2 separate regions of the Homo sapiens genome follow, and region 2 is linked to region 1. The links are contacts of gene promoters, found by promoter capture Hi-C in human tissues and cell types (Jung and others, 2019). All regions are on one chromosome and are shown on one strand. The core of a region is centred on a gene start or on the middle of the fragment in contact, and the rest is flanking DNA. Distances in the headings are between cores, read along the strand shown.

Region 1 (2,843 bases), core at 211-2,710:
GATAATCGGCGATGTAATGAATTGTAACATGTTTGTCCTGAGGTCATGTGTTGACAGAGGATTCTTGGGATGGATAGGAGATGCCATGTGAGGAGGATCCGATCCTACTGCTATTTTCTGGTGTCTTCAGCACCACACAGAGAAGGGACTCAGAGTCTAGATACTGTCTTCAACACTTTTTATTAGAAACGGACAACAGCCGCTTACCAACAACCAGAGGTTGACTTCAACAAATATCCTGCAGGGCCTGGCCTGGTGGCTCATGCGTATAATCCCAGCACTTTGGGAGGCCGAGGTGGGCAATTGCTTGAGGCCAGGAGTTTGAGACCAGCCTGGGCAATGTGGCCAAACCTGTTTCTACAAAAAATACAAAAATTAGCCGCGTGTTGTGACACTTGCCTGTAGTCCCAGTTACTAGGAAGGCTGAGGTGGGAGGATCACCTGAGCCTGGGAGGTTGAGGCTGTGGTGAGTGGTGGTCACGCAACTGCACTCCAGCCTGTGTGACAGAGTGAGACCTGCAGGTCTCAAAAAAGAAAAAAAAAATCCTGCAAACAAACTTAAACTTCCTGTGTTCTAGTTATTTACTTACCAAATAATATTGAGGTCTAAATGTTGTCTGTTAACCTGACATATGGAGGCCGTCCGTGCCCTAGCATTGGATATGGACCAAGTGAATCTCCATGTTCTGAAACCATGTCAGCACCCTGCCTTCCAAGTCAGGCTCCACAGAGGTTGACTAGCAGGATGTTACCAGGATGAGTTCCCAATTTCCTGATTATCCTTGGATGACCTTTTAGGATTTGAGTTGCTGGACTGTGAATTCCAAGGACTAAATTCTAGATTCAACAAGACCAACCTTAAGTGTCCTGCCTTTTATTCAACTCGATGGGAGAAACCATACATGAGAGATCTCTCAAAGCATTTGGCAGTGTTTTCCCATTACATCTTCACAGTTAAGATGATCAAGATGTTTAGCCACATAGGATAAATTACCTTGGCTGAAGTGTATGTGCAACTGTGTGAGCACAAGTAATTTATGGACATGGTTTGCTATTTGCATATGAAACAGACTTCTTGTTCTTTGTGGTGGAGAAAATGGCTCCTATGGGTCACAATTAGCCTATCTGGCAATTAGTCACAATTAGTCACAATGCTGGCAGTGCATCGTGCTTGCAAAGTTGTTTACACAAAGTAAGACTGAGTTTCTCGACATGGACAATATATTCAGAGCTGTGGCTTCTTGGATTTCTAATCTGATATGGTTTAAAGTTTCTCATTGTTCAAAGAAACTATTTAGATATCACTGTTGACTCAATGCTTATTATTGGGCAGTGAATAGAATTAATTGAACAACAGAAGGAGTTGTGTTGCTACCGAGCAGTTAAAATGCTTTGATTGCTTGATAAACATGATTAAGAGGCATGGTTCAACTGTATAGTGTATAAACAATATTACCCTAACAACACCAGGCTTCGAGAGAGAGGAGAGGCCCAGGGCAGACACTCTAGGAGAAAAACTTGAGTGGTATAAGTGGAGTTTTAATTTTTATTCTGTGAATGTAGTGAATAATACATGCAAATTAGAAACGTGAAAGTAAAATGGAAGTAAAACTTTCCATTTGGAAGCCTGTTGGATGTTGAGCAGGTCTGCCAGGAGTTAGAAGACCATTCCGGAAGAGCTGACTCCAGCCTGTCCATGCACGGCTACAATGTTTAGGATTGGGAGGAGACAGCTCTGGAAGCATAGCGTCACTCGAGTTTTAACGGTAAGGTGCTGTTGTCTGTACCTTTGCATGTGTGTTTTGGATTATCATCTGTCACACCTGGGTGGAAAAAACAAACTTGAAAAAGGTTCAAAGTCACACACTGATGAATTTGCGAGAAACACATTTTTTAACTAATGTTCACCTGGTGCATAGGCTACATATTCATTTTTTAAATAAAAAAAATTTTGCATCTGTAGGCTTTTCTGCACGTTGCCGCTTAAACTACGCACCTAGAAATTCATGCTGCATCTTTTGGGAAGATGCTTTCCTGGGGTCAAAAACACATTCATAGTGGTTTGGGCACTTTGTATTCTTTCAAACCTGTAAACTTTAGTTGGTGATTAGAAATAGTTAAGGCAGATTCTAGGCTGCAAGGTTTAGGCTTTGAAATCACTCCCCTGTTCTATATGCCTGCAAATGAGGTCACAGACAGTGAGATGCAAGGCTGTGCCTTTGGAAATCACATTGAAGAATGAACTTCCCTAGCACAGGGCTCAGCTCAGCAGCTTTTTATTATGCAAATGCATAGAGAGGGATTTGGAAACCTCTTCCACTGCCAATTAACGTCAGAAGAAATTGGAGGTTTCTCTAGGACTCAGTTCTCAACCATTAACCCATGCTTCCTACTGGGCTTGATCACTGTGTCTTTTTGTGTATCCCCAGAAGCTCACATGATCCCCCCTAGCCTGTTGTTTTTACCACAAAAGAGCAGGCATCTACCTCTGAATTTTTTAAGTATGCCACCATCTGCCACCCCTCACTTGCCCAAGCCACAAGATTCTGATGCATCCTTCCCAAGGTGAACGTCTTGCAGCCAAGCCCCTGAACTTGCTTGCTAGAGTTAGAAGACCATTCTGGAAGAGCTGACTCCAGCCAGTCCATGCACTGCTTATTCTTCAAGACCAAGTGCTAGTGTTACCTCCTCTGAGAAGCGTCCCCTGACACTTTGAGGAGGAGGTGTGAGTTTCCTTCCTGTACCCTGTCAGCACTTTCCTTCGATGTCTTATAGAGTCCTTGTCACATCACTGTAGTGAAATGACATTTACCCACATGTCTCTTTCTCTTGCTAGATTGCGA
Region 2 (2,711 bases), core at 37-2,536, 190 kb after region 1:
ATATGCCTTCTAGTCATCCCATGAAAGTCAATATTAACACTTTATAAATTTAAAAGGGAAAAATTTGGTTTCAAAAATGATTTTAAAGGATCTAAATTTCTTAGGCATGAACTACTTTTTTACATCTCATCTTTTGCTAATATTGCTTTTGGTTAAGTCTTTTGATTCTATCTTAATAGCTTCTTTAAAATAAACATTTTTAATTAGTCACAGCTCAAGGTATCAAATACGCTTTCCAGAAGGCAAGAAATATATGAAAGTGACAGGAACAATGTCAAGACCACCACGATACACAAAACGTAGATATTTATATTCAGTAAATAATCATTTTACATCCTTTATTACTCCTCAACAGTGATGAGTCCTGCTAGGCAGATAGTTCTAAATATTGTTTTTTTCTACAACTCTCAATATTAGCATGTTTTATAATTTACCTATATACATTTAATATTACAGTGTTCTGATCTAGGTAGACTATGGCCTGTGGGCCAAATCTAGCCCACTACCTATATTTGGATGGCTTGTGAAATAAGAGTAGGTTTTACATGTTTAAATAGTTTTAAAATAAGTACATGAACAATAATTTTGATTTTGCCTCTTGGCCCAAAATATTTACTATCTGGCACTTTAAAGAAAATATTTGCTGACCTCCTTTCTAATGAAGTGTAACTTTCTGCTTATACACATTTATGTCAAGTTCACATTAAGATTTGTTCAGGACTTAATGTGATTTGAAAGGATTCTGGAGCGGGAACAAAGCAAAGGTATAAACATGTGACGTTAGCTGAGTTCTCAGACCCTGAAATGCAGGATGTTTTGAGGTTGGCTGCCCATCTCTTCACTCTGTGTGTGTCCTGTGCAGGCCAACTTGGTGGTGCAAGAGAATCGCCATCTCCTGGCCATGCAGGATCTGCAGAAAGCCCAGGCCGAGTTGGATGACAAGCAGGCGGAACTTGACGTGGTGCAGGCTGAGTATGAACAGGCCATGACTGAAAAGCAGGTAACTGCCCTTTGTCATGGCAGGGACTGTCACATATCTACACGGCTTCTCTCTCCAAGAGTTTGGGTTCTTGTGGGGTTTCACTGAATTTATACATAATACATACATAGCACATAATGGACACCAAGGGTCTTTGATGAGACAACAGGATGGTCAGTCAAGATGGCTGTCAGTGCTGGAACATAGCCATTCTGAGTTTCTTTGTTAGTGGTGTTGGTAGTGATGACAGCATCTTGTGTACTAGCATTTTTGTTATGTTTTTCAAATCATGTCCTCCCATTTTTATCTCATTTAATCTTTGAAGTAACTTGCAAGGTAGGCAGGGTGGGTTTATTTATTTATTTATTTATTTAGACAAAGTATTGCTCTGTCGTCCAGGCTGGAGTGCAATGGCATGATCATGGCTCACTGCAGCCTTGAATTCCTGGGGTTAAGTGATCATTCCACCTCAGCCTCCCAAGTAGCTGGGACTACAGACATGCACCACCATGCCTGGCTAATTTTTTGTAGAGACAAGTTTTCACCATATTGCCCAGGCTGGTCTCGAACTCCTGAGCTCAAGTGATACACCTGCCTCGGCCTCCCAAAGGTTGGGATTACAGGTGTGAGCCAAGGCACCCTAGTGCCTTACCTATCTTTGTTCTCACTTTAGAGCATTCAAGTCAAATGCCTAAAGAGATCACAGAGGAAAAGTACCTGAGTTTCTAAGTAACCAGGATCTTGTCACTTTTTTTTTTTTACTTTAAATACATACTGATTTTTTTTTTTTACAAAGTGGTCTCTCTAGAGTATATAAGCTTTTGGCTTAATAAAATCTGTATCTGCCTCTGATAAATCCAATATTTGGTAAATAATAGCTAGATTCACTCTGTTTTACCTTGATAATTTTATGAAATTCACCTCTACCCCTTCTCAGCCTTTACTTGGCCGAATTGAAATTCCTGCCTTGTTAGTTTTGTAGGGGTCCCAATAAAAGAGTTTAGATAAACATTTCAGTTTCAATATCTGCAGAATGTATGATATAATGTCTTAAAGATAAGTCTTCCACAAGCAAAGTAAATGCTTTTGGAAGCTTTAAAGAAGTAGCACTTTTGAAAAATGTCTGTTCATGTCCTTTGCCCACTTTTAATGAGATTTTTTTTAAATTGTGAATTTCTTTAAGTTCCTTATAGATCCTGGATATTAAGATTTTTTCAGATCCATATTTTGCAATAATTTTCTCCCATTCTAGAGGTTGTCTCTTCACTCTGTGGATAGTTTCTTTTACTGTGCAGAAGCTTTTTATTTTAATTAGATCCCATTTGTCAGTTTTTGCTTTCTTTACAACAGACACTTTTCAAAAAAAGACATACATGCGGCCAACAATCATATGAAAACAAGCTCAGTATCACTGATCACTAGAGAAATGCACATCAAAACCACAATCAGTTACCATCTCACACCAGTCAGAATGGCTATTATTAAAAAGTCAAAAAACAACAGATGCTGGTGAGATTGCGGAGAAAAAGAATGCTTATACACTGCTGGTCAGAGTGTAAGTTAGTTCAACCATTCTGGTAGATAGTGTGGCAATTCCTCAAAGACGTAAAAACAGAAATACCATTGACCCAGCAATCCCATTACTTGATATATACCCAAAGGAATATAAATCGTTCTGTTATAAAGCCACCTGTGTGAATATGTTCATTGCTGCCCTGTTCACAATAGCAAA

What was found. The method cuts DNA at HindIII sites, captures the fragments that hold promoters and counts their contacts. A contact is called where the count stands out against the background at its distance.
Region 2: a contact is called between a fragment that was not itself captured here and the fragment with the promoter of DNAH5 in region 1, in 1 of the 25 tissues and cell types used here (H1 embryonic stem cells).

The regions. Positions count from the first base shown.
Region 1 is chr5:13,943,305-13,946,147 of GRCh38, reverse strand. DNAH5 (dynein axonemal heavy chain 5) reads left to right here and starts at 1,460. Exons shown (of 79, transcript NM_001369.3): 1 at 1,460-1,766. The coding sequence starts at 1,710. The HindIII fragment of the contact is 17,200 bases long and covers 1-2,843 here.
Region 2 is chr5:13,757,135-13,759,845 of GRCh38, reverse strand. It overlaps DNAH5 (dynein axonemal heavy chain 5), which reads left to right. Exons shown (of 79, transcript NM_001369.3): 61 at 863-1,000. Among named protein-coding and RNA genes, the nearest start is that of DNAH5-AS1, 100 kb to the left of the region's middle. The HindIII fragment of the contact is 3,083 bases long and covers 1-2,711 here.